3 separate regions of the Homo sapiens genome follow, and regions 1 and 2 are each linked to region 3. Evidence: promoter capture Hi-C in 16 types of primary human blood cells and fetal thymus (Javierre and others, 2016). All regions are on one chromosome and are shown on one strand. The core of a region is centred on a gene start or on the middle of the fragment in contact, and the rest is flanking DNA. Distances in the headings are between cores, read along the strand shown.

Region 1 (3,100 bases), core at 499-2,998, 740 kb before region 3:
GGGCGGGAGCAGGTAAGGACCACTCCACTAAGAGTCCTGGCTGAGCCACTCCGAAACAGACCAGCCCCAGGCACAGGCAGCCAGCGCGGACGTCAGGGACAGCGACAGGGACGCAGGCTATGCCGACTCCCTCTGGCTCACTCGCAGACAGCCACCCGGGCTGGCCCCGCACCTGGGTAGAGACTGCCCCTCGGCCTGCTCCAGCCACGGGCCTACGGGACAGATGACCTTAGCATTCCACCAGCGGAGAACTTCCTGGAACTGGCAGCTGGCGCTGCTGGGAGCCGCCCTTCCCTCCCGCCCCGTGCGGCCACTCACCTGGGGGCAGCTGGAAGTTCTGGATGTTGGTCGGGTTCTGAGGCGGCTGCGGCAAGCGGGGGGCCAGCACGGTGGGCGTCAGGGTGGCCCGAATCCCGCTGGTGGTGGCCGTGGGCGTCCGGGACAGGCTCTGGGTCACTGCGCCGGCCGCGCCTTTGGGCAGCCCGGTGGGGGTCCCGGGGGCGGGCGGCGGGACGGCGGCCGGGCTGGGCAGCGCCCCTTGCATAGTTGGCCCGATGACCATGCTGGCCGCCGTGCTGGCCGGGCCGCTGGCCGCCAGGGTCTGCGCCGCCGGGGGCGCCGCCTGCACCACCCTCTTGGGCGACTCGGCCTTGACCCCCGGCGCCGGCGCCGCAGCCGCCGCGCCGGGCCCGGGTTGGCCGCTGACCCCCGCGGGGCCCCCGGCGGCCGGGGCGGGGGCGGGGGCTGCCCCGGCGCTGCCCCCGTTCTGGGCGGCGGCGGGGGGCGGCACGGCGGGCGCGGCGGTCGGGGGTCCGGCGGGGTGGCCGGGCGGCCGGGCCAGAGTGGCGGGCGCGGGGGGTGGCGGGGGCGGGGCGGCGGCGGGGGCGGCGGGCGCGGGGGCGGCGGGGGGCGAGGGCGCGGCGGGCGCGGGGGGCGCGGCGGCGCCCACGAAGGGGGGCGTCTGGATGACAGTGCCGGGGGCGGCGGGCTTGGGCAGCGGCAGCAGCGCGGCGGGCCCGTTGTTGACCAGGCTGACAGCAGGTGCGGCGGCGTGGTGCGAGTTCAGCAGCGCGGCGCTCCCATTCAAAGTTTGCGCGGCGCCGGGGCCGGCGGGCTTGCCAGGGCCAGGGCCGGGGCCGGGGCCGGGGCCGGGCCCGGGGCCGGGGCCGGCGCGGGCGGCCAGCGCGGCGGGGCCGGCGGGCTTGGCGGGGCCGGCGGGGGCGGGCTCGGGCCCCGCGGCGACGGCGGCGGCGGCGGGCACCGGGGCGCAGGACCCCGCGCTGCCCTCGGGCGGCGGCCTCAGCTTCGCGGCGGGCGGCGCGGGCCCTGCGGGGACAAGGGGGCGGCGCGGTGAGGGGGGGCCCGGGCGCTGCGGCCCCCCGCCCCCCGGCCGCGCTCTACCTGCGGGGGGCGGCTCCGGCGCCGCTCCGGGCGCGCCCTCGGCGGGGGCGGCCGGCCCTGCGCCCGCGGCTCCGGCCGGGCTGCCGCTCACAACATGGTTCCCGAGCGCGCCGGCGGCCGCGGCCCGCACCTCGGGCGTGCGCGGCGCGAGGTGGTGGTGGTGGGCCGCGCTGGCCGCCAGCTGCGACTCCAGCGAGCCCACCAGGTCGCTCACCACTTTCTCGTCCACCTCGCTGTTGAAGAAGACCTCGTCCAGCAGATCCGAGCCCGCCGCCATCTTTTTTCCTCGGCCGCCGCCGCCGCCGCCGCTCGGGCCGAGCGCGCCTGGGCGAGGAGGAGGTTCCGACTGGGGCGGGCGCTGGGCGGGCGGGGGGCGGCGCGCGGCCGGCGGGGGGCGGGGGCGCGCGGCCGGGGGGCGGGGGAGCGGGGGTGGCGGCCCTGCGCAGGCGCGGAGACCGCGGGCGCCCGGCGATTGGCTGCGGCGCGCGCTTAAAAGGCGCGGCCAATGGCTGCGAGCGCTAGAGGCCGGGGCGCGGGCGGTCGGCCGGGGTGCGGCAGCAGCGGCGGGAAGCGCGGGGGCTGGAGCTCAGGGGCGCGGGCGCCGGGGCGGTGGCGGACGGGGAGGGGGCCGCCGGGCGGGGCGCGGGATGCGGGAACGGTGCGCTGGGCCGGGCCGAGGCGGGCGCGGGGCGGCGACGGGGCCTCGCTCTTTGTCTCGGCTCGCTCCAAAATGGCTGCGGCGGCGCTGACGGGAGCGCCGGGCGGGCGCCGTGCGCGGTGGCAGCGGCGGCGCAGGGCCCGTCCGAGGCCCGGGGAACAGCGCGCGGGGATGCCGGGGCGCCGCCGGGCGGCGCGCAGGCCCTGGAGTGGATGGGCCTGGGAGGCGGGCGGGAACGGGGAGGGGACTGTCGCAGCGCGCCCTGGGGACGGGGACCGGCGCCCGGCCCCTCCAAGCCGCCGCGGGGAAGCTGGGTCCGCCTCTGGCTCAGCCGGTCCCGGGCGGTGGGGAGGGGTCCTGCGCGCACGGCTCTTCTCGCCCTCCAATCGTGACCACCCCTGGCCCTTCCCTCCATTTTTAATCAATAAACCCAGCCGCCCCGGGCTGACTGTCCCCGCACCCAGCTGCCTTGGAGACAGGAGTGTCGTATAAGCCCGTAGGTAAGAGCACGGTGCTTGCCAGGCGCCAAACGAAGTTCCCGAGCCTGAAGCCGGCACGTCTGGAAGTAGCTTTTTTTACCTTCTGCTGGGGGAGGGGAGTAAGTTACCTAAAGTGTTCCCAAGCACCTTCTCTCTAGAAATACTTCAGTAAAAGTTCCAGTCCCCTCTTTCTGCGTGTTTTATTTTCCAACCAAAAGATGGTGTTATTGGACATTTCTAGTGGTTTTCCTTTCTCTCATTTCTTCCTAAGAGCCCAGAATAGGTTTCAGAGAGACGCTTCCTTGCCTCGGACCTCACTGGGGCCAAGAGGCCACAGGGTCAGTCTTCGCAGCTGAAGACAGCGCCGCAATAAGCAGAGACCTCGGGACGATGAATGACGTTGCTGACAAAGAAAATGATTTTTTTAATTGCTTTAACAAAGGAGACTGCTAGTCTCGAAAGCAGACCCGAACTGGACCCTTGTGCCTGTTCGAACTGTAGCCTTGCAAAGGAATGGACTTACTGATAACTGGAATACGGGACTTCACCCCAGGCTTGTTTC
Region 2 (2,943 bases), core at 144-2,643, 620 kb before region 3:
TTTACAGTTGTTTGCGGCTGGTATTTAAGAATACAACTGATTTTTTTATATTAGCCTGATAACATGCCATCTTGCTCAGTTCCCTTCCCTGGGACTTTTTTTTTTGTTTTTTTTTTTTTTTTTTGAGATGGAGTCTTGCTCTGTCACCCAGGCTGGAGTGCGGTAACGTGATCTCGGCTCACGGCAGCGTCTGCCTCCCAGGTTCAAGCGATTCTCCTGCCTCAGCCTCCCGAGTAGCCGGGACTACAGGCACGTGCCACCACGCCTGGCTAATTTTTATATTTTTAGTAGAGATGGGGTTTCACCATGTTGGCCACGCTGGTCTTGAACTCCTGATCTCAAATGATCCGCCCACCTCGGCCTCCCAAAGTGCTGGGATTACAGGCATGAGCCACCGTGCCCAGCCTTCCCTGGGATTCTCTGTGGAACTCTGTCCTCTCTTCTGTAAACAGGGACAGTTTTACTTCTTCCTTTTTTCCCCCTTTATTTCAGTGTGTGAAAGGACATTGTTGCATAGCAGTGGTATGTGTGGAGGCCCTTTTTCTCCATCTTGGGAGGTAACCATTCAGTATTTCTTCATTAAATGTGATTAGCTGTCGGCCGGCCCTACGTAGTGCCCTTATCAGGGCGAAGATGTTCCCGTCTGTTCCCAGTTTGCTGAGATGTTTTGTTTTCCTCCTCATGAGTGGGTGTTGAGACGGTGGTACCACCTGTTGATATAGTGAAGTGCCTGGGCTGAGTTTTGACTGCTTGATGTGGCCTTGTGTTCTGAGATTACCCCTACTAGGTCTTGATGTGTGATCCTTTCTGAACTGCTGGATTCAATTGGGTAATATTTTGTTAAGAGTTATTTGCATCTATATTCATGAGGGGTATGGTCTATAATTTTATTTTTTCTTAGTGTCAGATTTTGGTACTAGCCTCATAGGATGAGTTGGATAGTGATCTCACTTCCTCTATTTTCTGAAAAAGCTTGTGTAAGATTGGCACTGTTTCTTCCTGGAATGTTACATGGAATTTACCAGGAAAACAAGCCGAGCTAGAGTTTTCCTTTGGGGAGTGTTCTTTTATAAGAAATTTAACTTATTGAGTAGATACAGGGCTATTCTAGATTGTTTATTCTTGTGTTTCTTTAATAAGTTGCCTTTTTCAAGAAATTTGTCCATTTCATGTAAGTTGAATTTGTTACTGAATTTGCTGGCATGAAGTCGTTCCCAGCATTCTCTTGCCCTCTGGCTGTCTGTAAGGTGTGTCCTGATAACCCGTTGAACATTCCTGACAGTGGAGGTTTGCGCTCTCTCGTTTTCCTGATCAGGCTAGAAGTGTGTTAGTTAGCTTGTCTTTTCAGTGAACCTGTTTTTTTCTGTTACATGTTATTGTTGTCTCTTTATTTCTGCTCTGTATTATTCTCCTCCTTCTACTCGACGCTTACTTTGCTCTTTCTGGTTTCTTGATTTGGAGCCTTAGGTTACTGATTTTAGATCTTTCTTCTTTACCAAGGTAGCCATTAGAGCTGTAAGTTTCCTTCTAAACACTACTCTAGCTGCATCTCTTAAATTCTGGTATTTCATGGTGGCGGGCGCCTGTAGTCCCAGCTACTCGGGAGGCTGAGGCAGGAGAATGGCGTGAACCCGGGAGGCAGAACTTTCAGTGGGCCGAGATCACACCACTGCACTCCAGCCTGGGCGACAGTGCGAGACTGTCTCAAAAAAAAAAAAAAAAAATTCTGGTATTTTGCATTTCCATTATAATTCAGTTCAAAACATTTTGTAATTTCTCTTTTGATTTCTTCTTTGGCCTATGGATTATTTAGAAGAAGCTTGTTTGATTTGCAGGTATTTGGGATTTTCCTAGATATTTTCTAGCTATTGACTTCCAATTTAATTCCGAGAATAGACCCTGTGGTTGGTATTCATATACTTCCCCCCAGCCCCACCACAGAAGCTCTGTCACACAGGCTGGAGTGCAGTGTGTGATCATGGTTCACTGCAGCCTCCAACTCCTGGGCTTAAGTGATCCTCCCACCTTAGCCTCCTAAGTAGCTGGTATTATAGGCATGCACCACCATGTCCAGCTAATCAGCTAATTTTTTTTTTTTTTTTTTTTTTTTGGTAGACACAAGGTCTCGCTATTTTGCCCAGGCTGTTCTCAAATTCCTGGCCTCAAGTTTTTCTCCTGCCTTGGCCTCTCAAACTGCTGGGATTACAGGTGTGAGCCACTGTACCGGGCCTTTCTGTATACTTCAAGTAATCTCTAGATTATTTATAGTACAATACAATGTAAATGCTATGTAAATAGCTGTTATACTTTATTTTTTAAATTAAAAAAATTGTTGTATTGTTACTGGTTTTTTTGTTTGTTTTCCAGATATTTTTGACGTGAGGTTTGTTGACCCCACAGATACGGAGGACTGACTATGATTTCTTCTCAATGTATTGAGACTTATGACACATCTTATGGTCTGTTTGATGACTTCCACCTGTACCTGAAAACAGTGTATATTGTACAGTTGTTGGATGTACTGTTATGTAAATGTCAACTAGATAAATGTTTTGATAGTATTGTTCAGATTTTATGTCTTTACTGTTTTTATTTTTCTATTTTTAGACAGGGTCTCAGGCCAGGTGTGGTGGCTCATGCTTGTAATCTCAGCACTTTGGGAGGCCAAGACAGAAGGATCGCTTGAGACCAGCCTGGGTAACTGGGAGACCCTGTCTCTGCAAAAAAAATTTAAAAATTAGGCACAGTGGCACTTACCTGTAGCCCCAGCTACTCAGGAGGCTGAGGCAGGAGGATCTCTTAAGTACAGGAAGTCAAGGCTGTAATGAGCTGTGATTATGTCACTGTGCTCCAGCTTGGGTGACAGAGTGAGACTCTGTCTCAAAAAAAAAAAAGAAAAAAAAGTGTCTCTTTCTCTCATTCTATTGCTCAGGCTGGAGTGCG
Region 3 (3,253 bases), core at 142-2,641:
GTTCCAGCCAGGTGAGACTGCACCTGCTAACAGTGGTCAACAGGTCAGCAAAGATTAGGGCCCAGCACCCAGAGGGTCCTTAACCTGTACTTGTGGCCAGGATTGGAAGACTTGCGTTCACGGCTGTCCCTGGCACACAGTACAAGGAATGTCACCAGTTCCCAGGCCCAGCAGGCCTGCAGGGCTAGGAGATGGCAGTGTCCCCTAGGGGCTGGGCTGGGGCCTTCTCCACCTTTCCACCACCATCATTACAGGGACAACTCTGCGAGGAGCTATCCTCATGGCCAAGTCCAAAATCCAGATTTAGTTTTACCTAAATGTTTTGAAATGAATTGGTATAGCAGTTACAGAAGAAATTTATCTGGAGTGGCCACTCCTGATTTTTATTTCAAGAGGTCACCAACCTTGCCATGTATCTGCCAGCAGATGTCAAAGGTGGATGAGCAAGGGACCCGCGGTGCTGGGAAATGGCAGGTGAAAGTGACTTTGTGTTGCCCCATATCTGCCAGTGCTTAGAGAGAGGGCCCTGAGGAGGCGCTGAACTGGCATCAGCTGTGTTGAACAGTCCCCAGGGTGACCCTCCCGGTGGCCCAGGCTTCGTGTGGTCCTCTCCCCTAAGTGCCTTCTTACAACTGAGAGATGGCGGCAAAGGTGAAGGAAGCCACGGCTTGCCCATGTCATCCTGGTTATATAAGACTCGGCACCCTAGAGAGAAAGACTCCCCTGGTGGCTTTGAAAAGAAAACGGCCGTGCTTTGCACTGCCTATGGAGGGACAGGGGTCCGCCAGCAGCTTCCAGGAGCTGAGTAAGGCCCCCAGCCCGCAGCAGAAGGACAGAGACCCCTACACACCCAGCTTAGGGAGAGAGGCCCCTGTGGACACGTGGCCCCTCCGGGGGTTATCCTCCAAGGGACATTCTTCTGATGGGGACATCCTCTGGGGGGATTTCTCTTGGGGGACAGAAATATTCCTGGAAGAGGGGATTCTCTGCGGGGCAGGCATCCTCCGGGGAGAGAATCCTGCTGGGAGGACATCGTCGGGAAGACATCCTTCCTAGGTACCCGGCTCATCTTCCGGGGAGACCGTCCTCTGGGGGGCGGGCAGGCTTTGGGGACATTTTCGGGAGGGAGGATCTCCTAGGGCGGGCATCCTTGCGAGACGGGGTGGGGCGAATCCTCCCGGGTGGGCATCGTGGGGTGGGGGTGGGCGTTCCGCGAGGGGCATCCTCCCGGGCGGACGTTGGGGGATTCTCGGGGGAGGGAGGGGCGCGGGGCGGGCGTCCCGGGGAGGGAGGGGCGTTGCGCGCGGACGCGGGCGGGGCCTGGGCCGCTCCGTCCCCTCCCCCCGCCCGCCCCCCGCGCTTCCTCTGCTTTCGGTTTCGCTTCCGCCTCCAGCGCGAGCCCCGCCGCCGCCGAGCATGGACGACCCCGACTGCGACTCCACCTGGGAGGAGGACGAGGAGGATGCGGAGGACGCGGAGGACGAGGACTGCGAGGACGGCGAGGCCGCCGGCGCGAGGGACGCGGACGCAGGGGACGAGGACGAGGAGTCGGAGGAGCCGCGGGCGGCGCGGCCCAGCTCGTTCCAGGTGCGGCCCCGCGGCGCGGAAGAGGCCTGGGGTCCCCGGCGCCCCCCGCCCGGCTGCGTGGACGGGAGACCCCCCCATCCCGGGCGGAGACACCTGGAGCCTCCTGGAGCTCCCGCAGCCCCGGGGACCCCCCCCCAGACCGGCCGACCCCCAGCCCCAGGGCCCGGCGGGGAAGTGCGGGGGCCGCGCGTGGGTGACAGCGGAGCTGAGCCTCCCGGGCCCCATCGTGTGTGGGCGCCGTTCCCCCCGGGGGTGCCTCGGGCGCGTCCCGCCCCCAGCCGCCGTGGCCGCCCCTGATGGAACCCCTCCCGCCTCGGGCCCGCGCCTCGGCCTCCTGGCGGCCCCTGCGCAGGCCCCGCGGCCTGGGGCTGGGGCTGGGGCTGGGGCTGGGGCTGGGGCCCGGGCCGGGTCTGGCCTGGGAGGCTTCGCGTCTGCACCTGCGGGAGCCCGGGGCGGGCCGACGGGGCCTCCGCTTGTTACTTTTGTTACCGCCGGGCGCCTGTCATCGCCGGGGTTACTTTTGTTGCCGCGCTGGGAACGCCACACTGTCGCAGTCCGGCCCCCCTGTCGGGGAGCTGGGATTGATCTGGGAGCGGCCTTCCAGCTGAGCTGCCCGGGTTGCGGAGGGCCGGGAAGTGCATGGAACTCGACGGCTCCGCATGGATTCTCCCCTTGGCACCCAGCACTGTTTGCGTTTGCGCCTGGCCATGGTGGAGCGGGCAGTGAGAGAGCACGGAGGGGCTCCGCCCTGTCGCCGGGAGGGCAGCGGCCAGGCAGGCTGGGCAGGGGGGTGGGGTCTGGCTCTGTCCCACAGGACGGTGTGACCCCTGGGTGGGCTCTTGACGGGCTTTCCTCACTGGAGTTCCTCAGGCCGCTCTCCTGAAGCGGTGCTCAGAGGCCCTGACCATCCTGCCAGGCGCCCGTGACCCCTGACCTCTTCCCTCTGCCTCCTGCTGTGGCTTCTGTCCACAAGCCCCTCCCCTTCCCCTTTGGACCCCTCAGGCCTCCCCAGCTGCCTGCGCTGGACCCTGGCGGGGCTGTTTCACTTTTTCCTGGGCAGTGTCATGTATGCACCTGTGGGCTGACTGTGTGGCCACATCCAGTCAGGACCCAGCCTCCAGAACTGACCCAGGGAGGCTCCCGCTGGCCCCAGGAAGGAGAAGTAGAAACTGATGATCAGGCGGGGCGAGAGAACCACACCAGCGGCCCTGTTGAGAAATCAGGCCGAGAGGTCGGTGGCGGTGGCTCAGGCCTGTAATCCCAGCACTTTCGGAGGCCTGGGCAGTCGGATCACCAGAGGTCAGGAGTCCAAGATTAGCCTGGCCAACATGGTGAAACTGTTGTCTCTACTAAAAATACAACATTAGCCAGGCGTGATGGGCACCTGTAATCCCAGTTCCTCCAGAGATTGAAGCAGGAGAATCGCTTAAACCTGGGAGGTGGAGGTTGCAGTGAGTGGAGATTGCCTGGGAGGTGGAGGTTGCAGTGAGTGGAGATTGCCTGGGAGGTGGAGATTGCATGAAGCTCCATCTCGAGGGGAAAAAAATAAGAAAGAAAAATCAGGCAGAGAGGCAACGCCAGGTCCCAGCTGGAGCTCAGCGGGGAGCCAGGGGATACAGTGGCTGACCGGGCCTCCTAACCCCCCTTCTAGCACTCCCCCAGGATC

Evidence for each region. Contacts are between HindIII fragments. The CHiCAGO score rates a contact against its expected background, and 5 or more counts as called.
Region 1: the fragment with the promoter of TAF4 here is called in contact with the fragment with the promoter of OGFR in region 3 in 1 of 17 cell types (neutrophils); the score reaches 5.5 in neutrophils.
Region 2: a contact is called between a fragment that was not itself captured here and the fragment with the promoter of OGFR in region 3, in 1 of 17 cell types (erythroblasts). The highest score is 6.7, in erythroblasts.

What each region holds. Positions count from the first base shown.
Region 1 is chr20:62,064,133-62,067,232 of GRCh38, forward strand. TAF4 (TATA-box binding protein associated factor 4) reads right to left here and starts at 1,749. Exons shown (of 15, transcript NM_003185.4): 1 at 319-1,749. The coding sequence starts at 1,678. It overlaps MIR3195 (microRNA 3195), which reads left to right and starts at 670; the gene lies at 670-753. LOC105372705 (a long non-coding RNA gene) reads left to right here and starts at 2,322. Exons shown (of 2, transcript XR_936960.3): 1 at 2,322-2,559; 2 at 2,810-3,100. RefSeq lists enhancers at 1-467, 468-981, 982-1,496, 2,525-3,038 and silencers at 1,430-1,519, 1,780-1,889, 2,150-2,529. The HindIII fragment of the contact is 9,555 bases long and covers 1-3,100 here.
Region 2 is chr20:62,186,423-62,189,365 of GRCh38, forward strand. The region is part of intron 1 of MTG2 (mitochondrial ribosome associated GTPase 2); the gene reads left to right. Among named protein-coding and RNA genes, the nearest start is that of MTG2, 4.9 kb to the left of the region's middle. The HindIII fragment of the contact is 847 bases long and covers 971-1,817 here.
Region 3 is chr20:62,803,444-62,806,696 of GRCh38, forward strand. It overlaps OGFR (opioid growth factor receptor), which reads left to right and starts at 1,392. Exons shown (of 7, transcript NM_007346.4): 1 at 1,392-1,587. The coding sequence starts at 1,417. OGFR-AS1 (OGFR antisense RNA 1) reads right to left here and starts at 2,144. Exons shown (of 3, transcript NR_102430.1): 1 at 2,025-2,144. RefSeq lists an enhancer at 1,165-2,070 and silencers at 1,586-1,655, 1,736-1,885, 1,946-2,115, 2,266-2,325. The HindIII fragment of the contact is 9,717 bases long and covers 1-3,253 here.